2 separate regions of the Homo sapiens genome follow, and region 2 is linked to region 1. Evidence: promoter capture Hi-C in human tissues and cell types (Jung and others, 2019). All regions are on one chromosome and are shown on one strand. The core of a region is centred on a gene start or on the middle of the fragment in contact, and the rest is flanking DNA. Distances in the headings are between cores, read along the strand shown.

Region 1 (5,460 bases), core at 949-3,448:
CGGGGAGGGGTCATACAAGGGTGTCAATACCAGGAGGTGAGGGGTGCTGGGGCCATCTTATGAGTCTGCCCACTGAGGTAACTAACAACCTTGAGGCCTGACACAGTGGACAAAGGCCCTTATTAACAGCAGAGAACTGGGAACTTTATTTATTTATTTATTTTTGAGACAGAGTCTCACTCTTGTCACCCAGGCTGGAGTGCAATGGCATGATCTTGGCTCACTGCAACCTCCACCTCCCAGGTTCAAGCAATTCTGCCTCAGCCTCCGGAATAGCTGGGACTACAGGCATGCACCACTACACCCGGCTAATTTTTGTATTTTTAGTAGAGACAGGGTTTCGCCATGTTGGCCAGGCTGGTCTCGAACTCCTGACCTCTGGTGATCTGCCTGCCTTGGCCTCCCAAAGTGCTGGGATTACAGGCGTGAGCCACCGCACCTCGCTGGAACTTAATTTTTTTAGAGACAGTGTCGCTCTATCACCCAAGCTGGAGTGCAGTGGTGCAATCCTAGCTCACTTGCAGCCTCAAATTCCTGGGTTCAGGTGATCCTCCCACATCAGCCTCCCAAGAACTGGGAACTAACAGCTGTTTCTCTGCTGTCCTTCTCAAGAAAAGGGAGGCTACTGCTACCCCACTGGGGACAATGCTGGGTTTCCCTTTAGGACAGGCTCTGAGACAAGGCGGAGGTGCTGTTTGTGGCCACAGAGCAGGGGACTCTGGGTTGCAGGTGTGGCCTGGCTAAAGTAGGCTTTACTGGGCTCCTCTCTGCCTGCATCACCCCCCGGCTGGGCGGTTGTCTCTGAGGCCAACCTTACTCCCTGCTGGGCAGGCTGGACAGCTGCCCTCTCCGTTTGCCCCTCTACCACCCAAAAGGCAGGAGGCTCTGGAGACCAGGACCCTGCCCGCCACGGCCTGTGTCCCAGGCGTGAGGGGGTGCCCCACAGACCTCTGCTGAGCTGCTGCTGAATGACGCCCCTTGGGGGTCCTGCCGGAAGGTCAGAGCAGGGGTGCACTCCCATAAAGAAACGCCCCCAGGTCGGGACTCATTCCTGTGGGCGGCATCTTGTGGCCATAGCTGCTTCTCGCTGCACTAATCACAGTGCCTCTGTGGGCAGCAGGCGCTGACCACCCAGGCCTGCCCCAGACCCTCTCCTCCCTTCCGGGGCGCTGCGCTGGGACCGATGGGGGGCGCCAGGCCTGTGGACACCGCCCTGCAGGGGCCTCTCCAGCTCACTGGGGGTGGGGTGGGGGTCACACTTGGGGTCCTCAGGTCGTGCCGACCACGCGCATTCTCTGCGCTCTGCGCAGGAGCTCGCCCACCCTCTCCCCGTGCAGAGAGCCCCGCAGCTGGCTCCCCGCAGGGCTGTCCGGGTGAGTATGGCTCTGGCCACGGGCCAGTGTGGCGGGAGGGCAAACCCCAAGGCCACCTCGGCTCAGAGTCCACGGCCGGCTGTCGCCCCGCTCCAGGCGTCGGCGGGGGATCCTTTCCGCATGGGCCTGCGCCCGCGCTCGGCGCCCCCTCCACGGCCCCGCCCCGTCCATGGCCCCGTCCTTCATGGGCGAGCCCCTCCATGGCCCTGCCCCTCCGCGCCCCACCCCTCCCTCGCCCCACCTCTCACCTTCCTGCCCCGCCCCCAGCCTCCCCACCCCTCACCGGCCAGTCCCCTCCCCTATCCCGCTCCGCCCCTCAGCCGCCCCGCCCCTCAGCCGGCCTGCCTAATGTCCCCGTCCCCAGCATCGCCCCGCCCCGCCCCCGTCTCGCCCCGCCCCTCAGGCGGCCTCCCTGCTGTGCCCCGCCCCGGCCTCGCCACGCCCCTACCTCACCACGCCCCCCGCATCGCCACGCCCCCCGCATCGCCACGCCTCCCTTACCATGCAGTCCCGCCCCGTCCCTTCCTCGTCCCGCCTCGCCGCGACACTTCACACACAGCTTCGCCTCACCCCATTACAGTCTCACCACGCCCCGTCCCCTCTCCGTTGAGCCCCGCGCCTTCGCCCGGGTGGGGCGCTGCGCTGTCAGCGGCCTTGCTGTGTGAGGCAGAACCTGCGGGGGCAGGGGCGGGCTGGTTCCCTGGCCAGCCATTGGCAGAGTCCGCAGGCTAGGGCTGTCAATCATGCTGGCCGGCGTGGCCCCGCCTCCGCCGGCGCGGCCCCGCCTCCGCCGGCGCAGCGTCTGGGACGCAAGGCGCCGTGGGGGCTGCCGGGACGGGTCCAAGATGGACGGCCGCTCAGGTTCTGCTTTTACCTGCGGCCCAGAGCCCCATTCATTGCCCCGGTGCTGAGCGGCGCCGCGAGTCGGCCCGAGGCCTCCGGGGACTGCCGTGCCGGGCGGGAGACCGCCATGGCGACCCTGGAAAAGCTGATGAAGGCCTTCGAGTCCCTCAAGTCCTTCCAGCAGCAGCAGCAGCAGCAGCAGCAGCAGCAGCAGCAGCAGCAGCAGCAGCAGCAGCAACAGCCGCCACCGCCGCCGCCGCCGCCGCCGCCTCCTCAGCTTCCTCAGCCGCCGCCGCAGGCACAGCCGCTGCTGCCTCAGCCGCAGCCGCCCCCGCCGCCGCCCCCGCCGCCACCCGGCCCGGCTGTGGCTGAGGAGCCGCTGCACCGACCGTGAGTTTGGGCCCGCTGCAGCTCCCTGTCCCGGCGGGTCCCAGGCTACGGCGGGGATGGCGGTAACCCTGCAGCCTGCGGGCCGGCGACACGAACCCCCGGCCCCGCAGAGACAGAGTGACCCAGCAACCCAGAGCCCATGAGGGACACCCGCCCCCTCCTGGGGCGAGGCCTTCCCCCACTTCAGCCCCGCTCCCTCACTTGGGTCTTCCCTTGTCCTCTCGCGAGGGGAGGCAGAGCCTTGTTGGGGCCTGTCCTGAATTCACCGAGGGGAGTCACGGCCTCAGCCCTCTCGCCCTTCGCAGGATGCGAAGAGTTGGGGCGAGAACTTGTTTCTTTTTATTTGCGAGAAACCAGGGCGGGGGTTCTTTTAACTGCGTTGTGAAGAGAACTTGGAGGAGCCGAGATTTGCTCAGTGCCACTTCCCTCTTCTAGTCTGAGAGGGAAGAGGGCTGGGGGCGCGGGACACTTCGAGAGGAGGCGGGGTTTGGAGCTGGAGAGATGTGGGGGCAGTGGATGACATAATGCTTTTAGGACGCCTCGGCGGGAGTGGCGGGGCAGGGGGGGGGCGGGGAGTGAGGGCGCGTCCAATGGGAGATTTCTTTTCCTAGTGGCACTTAAAACAGCCTGAGATTTGAGGCTCTTCCTACATTGTCAGGACATTTCATTTAGTTCATGATCACGGTGGTAGTAACACGATTTTAAGCACCACCTAAGAGATCTGCTCATCTAAGCCTAAGTTGGTCTGCAGGCGTTTGAATGAGTTGTGGTTGCCAAGTAAAGTGGTGAACTTACGTGGTGATTAATGAAATTATCTTAAATATTAGGAAGAGTTGATTGAAGTTTTTTGCCTATGTGTGTTGGGAATAAAACCAACACGTTGCTGATGGGGAGGTTAATTGCCGAGGGATGAATGAGGTGTACATTTTACCAGTATTCCAGTCAGGCTTGCCAGAATACGGGGGGTCCGCAGACTCCGTGGGCATCTCAGATGTGCCAGTGAAAGGGTTTCTGTTTGCTTCATTGCTGACAGCTTGTTACTTTTTGGAAGCTAGGGGTTTCTGTTGCTTGTTCTTGGGGAGAATTTTTGAAACAGGAAAAGAGAGACCATTAAAACATCTAGCGGAACCCCAGGACTTTCCCTGGAAGTCTGTGTGTCGAGTGTACAGTAGGAGTTAGGAAGTACTCTGGTGCAGTTCAGGCCTTTCTCTTACCTCTCAGTATTCTATTTCCGATCTGGATGTGTCCCAGATGGCATTTGGTAAGAATATCTCTGTTAAGACTGATTAATTTTTAGTAATATTTCTTGTTCTTTGTTTCTGTTATGATCCTTGTCTCGTCTTCAAAGTTTAATTAGAAAATGATTCGGAGAGCAGTGTTAGCTTATTTGTTGGAATAAAATTTAGGAATAAATTATTCTAAAGGATGGAAAAACTTTTTGGATATTTGGAGAAATTTTAAAACAATTTGGCTTATCTCTTCAGTAAGTAATTTCTCATCCAGAAATTTACTGTAGTGCTTTTCTAGGAGGTAGGTGTCATAAAAGTTCACACATTGCATGTATCTTGTGTAAACACTAAACAGGGCTCCTGATGGGAAGGAAGACCTTTCTGCTGGGCTGCTTCAGACACTTGATCATTCTAAAAATATGCCTTCTCTTTCTTATGCTGATTTGACAGAACCTGCATTTGCTTATCTTCAAAATATGGGTATCAAGAAATTTCCTTTGCTGCCTTGACAAAGGAGATAGATTTTGTTTCATTACTTTAAGGTAATATATGATTACCTTATTTAAAAAATTTAATCAGGACTGGCAAGGTGGCTTACACCTTTAATCCGAGCACTTTGGGAGGCCTAGGTGGACGAATCACCTGAGGTCAGGAGTTTGAGACCAGCCTGGCTAACATGGTGAAACCCTGTCTCTACTAAAAATACAAAAATTAGCTGGTCATGGTGGCACGTGCCTGTAATCCAAGCTACCTGGGAGGCTGAGGCAGGAAAATCGCTTGAACCCGGGAGGCAGAGTCTGCAGTGAGTTGAGATCACGCCACTGCACTCCAGCCTGGGTGACAGAGCGAGACTCTATCTCAAAAAAAATTTTTTTTAATGTATTATTTTTGCATAAGTAATACATTGACATGATACAAATTCTGTAATTACAAAAGGGCAATAATTAAAATATCTTCCTTCCACCCCTTTCCTCTGAGTACCTAACTTTGTCCCCAAGAACAAGCACTATTTCAGTTCCTCATGTATCCTGCCAGATATAACCTGTTCATATTGTAAGATAGATTTAAAATGCTCTAAAAACAAAAGTAGTTTAGAATAATATATATCTATATATTTTTTGAGATGTAGTCTCACATTGTCACCCAGGCTGGAGTGCAGTGATACAATCTCGGCTCACTGCAGTCTCTGCCTCCCAGGTTCAAATGCTTCTCCTGCCTCAGCCTTCTGAGTAGCTGGGATTACAGGCGCCCACCACCATGTCCAGCTAATTTTTGTATTTTTAGTAGAGATGGGGTTTCACCATGTTGGCCAGGCTGGTCTTGAACTCCTGACCTTGTGATCTGTCCACCTCGGCCTCCCAAAGTGCTGGGATTACAGGTGTGAGCCACCATGCCTGGCTAGAATAATAACTTTTAAAGGTTCTTAGCATGCTCTGAAATCAACTGCATTAGGTTTATTTATAGTTTTATAGTTATTTTAAATAAAATGCATATTTGTCATATTTCTCTGTATTTTGCTGTTGAGAAAGGAGGTATTCACTAATTTTGAGTAACAAACACTGCTCACAAAGTTTGGATTTTGGCAGTTCTGTTCACGTGCTTCAGCCAAAAAATCCTCTTCTCAA
Region 2 (5,460 bases), core at 1,154-3,653, 280 kb after region 1:
GGAATGTCAATGTGACAGTTAGTGGCTTGAGCAGGGCAGTACAGGGCTCTAAGTCACAGTATGGGAAGTTTTCTGGTTCCATGGAACAATTCAGACACATCCAGAAAAGCCGAATGTACAGAATCGAGTTATACAGGCGGAAAACAGTGCATCAGACCATAGTAACACAGTTAAAACTGGAGAAAAAAGTTCCAGGAGCTGACAAAAAAGTTGAAGGAAAGAGTCCTTGCCCTAGCCAAGCAAGCAGCTGCAGCTTCTCAAGGGGAGAGAGTGGAAGGCAGTGATATGCGGCCAGCAGGTCACACGCAGCAAGGCCAAGCCCAAGCCGAGGCTGTCAGATTCACCTGGAGAGGAAGACCCTGCCTGGAGAAATGAAATTGCCATTCTAAATGAAGACAGCATTTCTAACCTCATACGAGGGAAATTAGATGGAGACTAAAATAGAAAAAAGCTGCAGTTCAGAAGCTTGTTTTATAAACATACTTCAGAATTAAAAATCAAAACGTCCTGCAGTTTTACTAATAGCCGATCAATACTTCAGGAAAACCCTGTTGTTCTAACATAAGCGACCACGTTTTTTGCTTTGTATTAGTGTATTTTTAATATTAAAGTTTGGTCTTTAGAAGGACTTACACATAATTTTCTTCTAATTATAACCAACTTAATCATATAAAATTTATTTCGTAAATTTATCTTTCACAGACTTTTATGACCAATATAGGCCTTCGATGACATCCTTAAGCCTTTCTGCTTTGTTCTGTACTTCCTCTTTCTTAAAACAACAGGCATTTTACTTTAGGACAAAAATTTACCACACAGGAGTCTTTGTCATACAAAATTATTCATTTTTGTTTTTAACCTTCCTTACTAAGATACATCTACATACCTATAACTTTCTTCACATCTCTCGCTCTCCTACTTAGTGGTTTCTTTCTCTTTGCTTTCTAAATCCATATTTTGAAACAAATTTTAAATAATCTCCAAACTAGACAAAATTACTCTTTTTTTCAATAAAGAACACATTTTTATTCCTCTCATAATTTTTCTCATCAGAAACATACCTTACTTTTCGTATACTTTGTATACTGAAATATATATATGTAAGAACTTTAACTCTTAGTAACTGTAATTTTTAGTGAAAACCTTGGAATCAGTATTTTATAGATGAGAACCATTTTATAATTTTTGGAAACATGTTTTCCCGTTACATAATTACTTTGTGTATTAACAGGCAAAAATATATTTAGTCCTTCTCTAAAATTTAATAAGCCAAGAACAAACTTACATTTGTGTTCAGCAATGTATGTTTTAGTACTTTATCTTATATGGAAATGACTTAGACATTTTATGAGTATCATTTAATTTAACATAGCATAACTTTAAGATTTCAGATTACATGACAGTCTATAAGCACTTTCCCATCTACGTTTATGTACTTTATTTATTTTTAATAATTATACCTAGGTTACTTATGAAAACTGAGATATAGAAAAAGCTAGTCTTCATTTCAAGTTATTTCCCTTTTCACCATTTGTATAGCCTATGAGTATCAGGTTTTCACCTGAGAAACTTAAATATAGGGGTATTTTGCTGATAACACAGAAGATACAGCAATTTTGATTAAACTAACAGTGTTAGTCTTAGTCATTAAAAAGTTATACAAATAAAGATAATTGTGTCTTTAGTCTGGATTTATACTTTTATAACCTTAAGACATCTAGTAGAGATAAATATAATCCTCTCTGACCAGTAAAGCTGGGCAAAAATGTATGCTGACAGTTTTGAAGACACTTCTATTTTTATTTTATCAACAAATTTAAAACCAACTTATTTATCCAAGATTTACTTAAGTCAGCTGGGTGTGGTGGCTCATGCCTATAATCCCAGCACTTTGGGAGGCTGAGGCAAGAGGATTGCTTGAGCCCAGGAGTTTGAGACCAGCCTGGGCAACATGGCAAGATCCCATCTCTACAAAAAATAAAAAAATTAGGCAGGTATGATGGTACACACCTGTAGTCCCAGCTACTCAAGAGGCTGAGGTGGAAGGATCACTGGAGCCCAGGAGGTTGAAGCCACAGTGAGCCATGTTTGTCCCACTGCACCCCAGCCTGGGTGACAGAGAAATAACCTATCTCAAAAAAACAAAAAACAAAAAAAACAAAAAAGATTTATTTAAGTCACACGAACTAAAAAGCATTTGGGTTAATTACTATATATTTTACATGAGTGCTTGTTTAAGCCAATCCAAATAGAATTTCTTAAGGGATTTCTGGCTAACTATGTCAGATTTTATCATGTAGATGTAACATACAATATGTATAAACATACATAAAAGCAAATACAGACACAAATAAAGATCTTATGGCTTTCATTTTAGAATTTTGGTCATGAAACAGAAAAACATAGTAATACAAATTCACTGGTTTATAAAATATAGTTGGATCAAATTATATTTTTGACAAAACGGAACTTTTATCTGTGGCTAAGTTCTGTTTACCCTGATAAGTAATTAATGAAGGCTGTGGACCAGAATTATGGATAAAGCAGTTTTCATAGCAGTTTGACTTTTAAAAACCTTTTAATCCTTTTTTCAGATTCAATTGAATTTAGGGTTGAATATTCAAATGTTTACATTTTAGCTAGGCCTGGCTAAATTGTATTAAAAAAAAACAACAAAATTTTCAGGTTGCCTTGAATTAGTAACAAATCTTTTTGTTTGTTTGCTTTTTCTGGCTCTTAAGTGTCAGACAAAATAATTTTTATGTCAGACAGAGATACCTTTTAGTATTGCTCTGAGCTTAAGGTTTTAACCTGTTTGATCTGACAGCCCTTAGCTTATATAAACATTTATAAAGTTTTTTTTTTAGAATATCGATTTTTCAATTAGCTTTTTCATCACCCTAAGCAATTGTTAGACAAACCTAAATTTACATTTCCAAAAGGTGTCTGCATCGTTGGTTGCCATAGATTTGGCATAATTTATAAAGCCATTAGTTTGAAAGCCCTTTAACACTTAAAAGAAAATCTTAGTTTCCATAAGCAATGAGTTTATCTTAATGCTGGCAGAAAAGTCATCAGATTCAAAGTTGGCAGAAAAAAGAGATGGAGAGTTAACCCTGTAGTTAGTTGCAGTTTTTGACAAGCTTAGACAGAAAATGGCTGTCCAGTGCTGCGTTTTTCCTGATGTAGTTTGCCCATCACCACACGAGAACGGACCACAGTATAGCTGGCCAGAGTCCTAGAAGACTTGGTGTGCCTCAATGTTTAAGAATCCCATTTCATTTCTTATTAATCTCTCAAGAGCAAAGAAAATCCTATAATTCCTGTCAGGGAGTTTAGACTGGTGCCTTATGTGGTGCTGACTGCCCTTGTTAATTGGCCATCCCATACCCATTATTTAGAATCTTTATTTTTGCTCTCAGATCATGGCCAGAATCAAGCAAGGGAAAAAAGAGCCAAATCATATACAGATGTGTGTAAGCAAATCAAAATAAAACAAAAAATAAGTGTGTTCACAGAAATTTTAAGCCAGGCATGCAGTCCAAACAAAACATTAAACCGGGTGTGCAGAACCAGACAGAATATAAATTCTGTAGTAACCAGAGGGACATTGTCCTTATACCAGAAGGGGCTTGCCAGAAGAGACAAAAGGTCTTTTATCATCCGAGACAGATGCAAGGTCCTTTATTAAGGTCCTTTATTAACTCAGATCCCAAATGAAGTAAAAAAGAGCTTCTAACAAAAAATGGGAGGCTTGGTTTGAGAGGAGACTTTCAAGGGCAGAAGAGGCGAGTCATGGAAGCAGAGAGCTCAAAGGGCTCAGTTGAGTGCCTCATACCAGTTCTAAGAATTGATGATTCTTTCCACAGGTGATCCTTCTCCACATCCCACTTCTGACACCATTTATGTCATCCTAAATAACAAATAGGGAGGGAGACTCTCCAAAAGAAAATGGTATTTATTCAGGAATAGGCATTGCGATGGGATACACATTATGGTAAACTATGTGCATATTCAGGGAAGTAGTGGAAGATAAAGGTTTCTAATGGAAAAATGAATATGATTACATAATCGTTTTGAGATAATTTTTCTTGGCTACAAGGATCAATAACAAGGGTGGCATGATTCTGAGGCTGGACAGGCAGTTGCTAGGCAGATGTCCTCGCAGAAGTAATTTGCGTATGTGTGTAAGGTTGTTTGGCCTTTGTGCAAGGTTGTAGTTTTCCAGTCTTTTGTAATAAGTCTTGTTATCAGGCATTTGAACCCTGCCTTCCCAACCTTCCCTAGCTCTGTTGATCAGGGTTTTTAACATAGTGACTCCGTTTTGAACCTGACAACTTTCACAAACCCAAAGAGGCCTACCAGCCATTGGCTTCTGTCTGACAGACAAGAGTTGTGAGTTAAAATAATTTGTCCCTTTCTTTGGAAGGGATGTTTGACTCCTAAAACTTTGCCGATGGGGCAGGCCACTGAGTCTCTCTAGGTTCTGTCTCGCACCCTCCAGAGTGCGTGTGGTGTGCCAAGGCCTCCGGCGTACTTTCCGCTTCTTGCTCATCTGCTCCAGTTAGCCTGATGTTAAAGGTATAATGAGCCACTGTGATGTTCTGAGTTGAACCAGATCATACAGGCCCTCTGGGACTACTTTGCTGGAGGGTGGGAGGGTTAACGAGGCCTGGGGCAGGACTACAAACGTACACTACTGCCTAGCCTATGTGAGAGTGAACTGAGTTTCATCTTTCTGATAGGAATGGAAAAGAAGGCATTCCTAGATCAGTGTGTGCACACTGCGTCCTGGGGGGATGTTACTGTACTCTAGCAAAGGTACCACATCTGGCACAGCAGCTGTGAATGGCGCTGCTTCTTAGTTAAGTTTGTGGTAGCTCACTGTCATCACCGTGATCCATCTGAACTTTGTAGGACCGGACTGGTATGAGTTAACTTGGGTATGACAGGGACTACCACTTTCACCTTTTTTGAAGTCTTCGAGGATGGTACCAGTCTGGGCTGTTTCTTCCCTGATGTGGCATTGTTTTTCACTAACCGTCTTGGTTTGAGTTGGGGGAAGGAGACTGTGCCACGGGCTTCTCCTTGACTTTTCCAGCTTAGTAGCTCTTACCTAGTGAGTGAAGGAACCAATGTGAGGGTTCTGCCAGTCATTTCATGTATATATTTGGGAACTAGGGAAATGACCATGGGTGGATCTGTGGATCTGTTGTGAGCTAGACTGGGGCCAGGACTCCCTTCATAACCTGGCTTCCATACGCCCCCTCTTTATAGGGAGAACGTGGTAGTGCTTTGGGTCCACAGATAGTGTCCATTCATACCCTAAGTTCAACAAAACCAGAAAGCTCTGGGCACTCCCCTTTCCTTAACACACTACTTCCCAAGCAAGTGGCCAACAGCCCTATGGAGAAAGACTGGGGAAATGACTATTGATGACACATGCCTTGGTGTTACAGG

What was found. The method cuts DNA at HindIII sites, captures the fragments that hold promoters and counts their contacts. A contact is called where the count stands out against the background at its distance.
Region 2: a fragment that was not itself captured here is called in contact with the fragment with the promoter of HTT in region 1 in 1 of the 25 tissues and cell types used here (dorsolateral prefrontal cortex).

The regions. Positions count from the first base shown.
Region 1 is chr4:3,072,483-3,077,942 of GRCh38, forward strand. HTT (huntingtin) reads left to right here and starts at 2,199. Exons shown (of 67, transcript NM_001388492.1): 1 at 2,199-2,606. The coding sequence starts at 2,344. It also overlaps HTT-AS. RefSeq lists silencers at 1,255-1,874, 2,025-2,464, 2,575-2,644 and enhancers at 2,805-3,034, 3,045-3,094, 5,375-5,460. The HindIII fragment of the contact is 13,196 bases long and covers 1-5,460 here.
Region 2 is chr4:3,348,547-3,354,006 of GRCh38, forward strand. The region is part of intron 3 of RGS12 (regulator of G protein signaling 12); the gene reads left to right. Among named protein-coding and RNA genes, the nearest start is that of RGS12, 58 kb to the left of the region's middle. The HindIII fragment of the contact is 4,811 bases long and covers 1-4,809 here.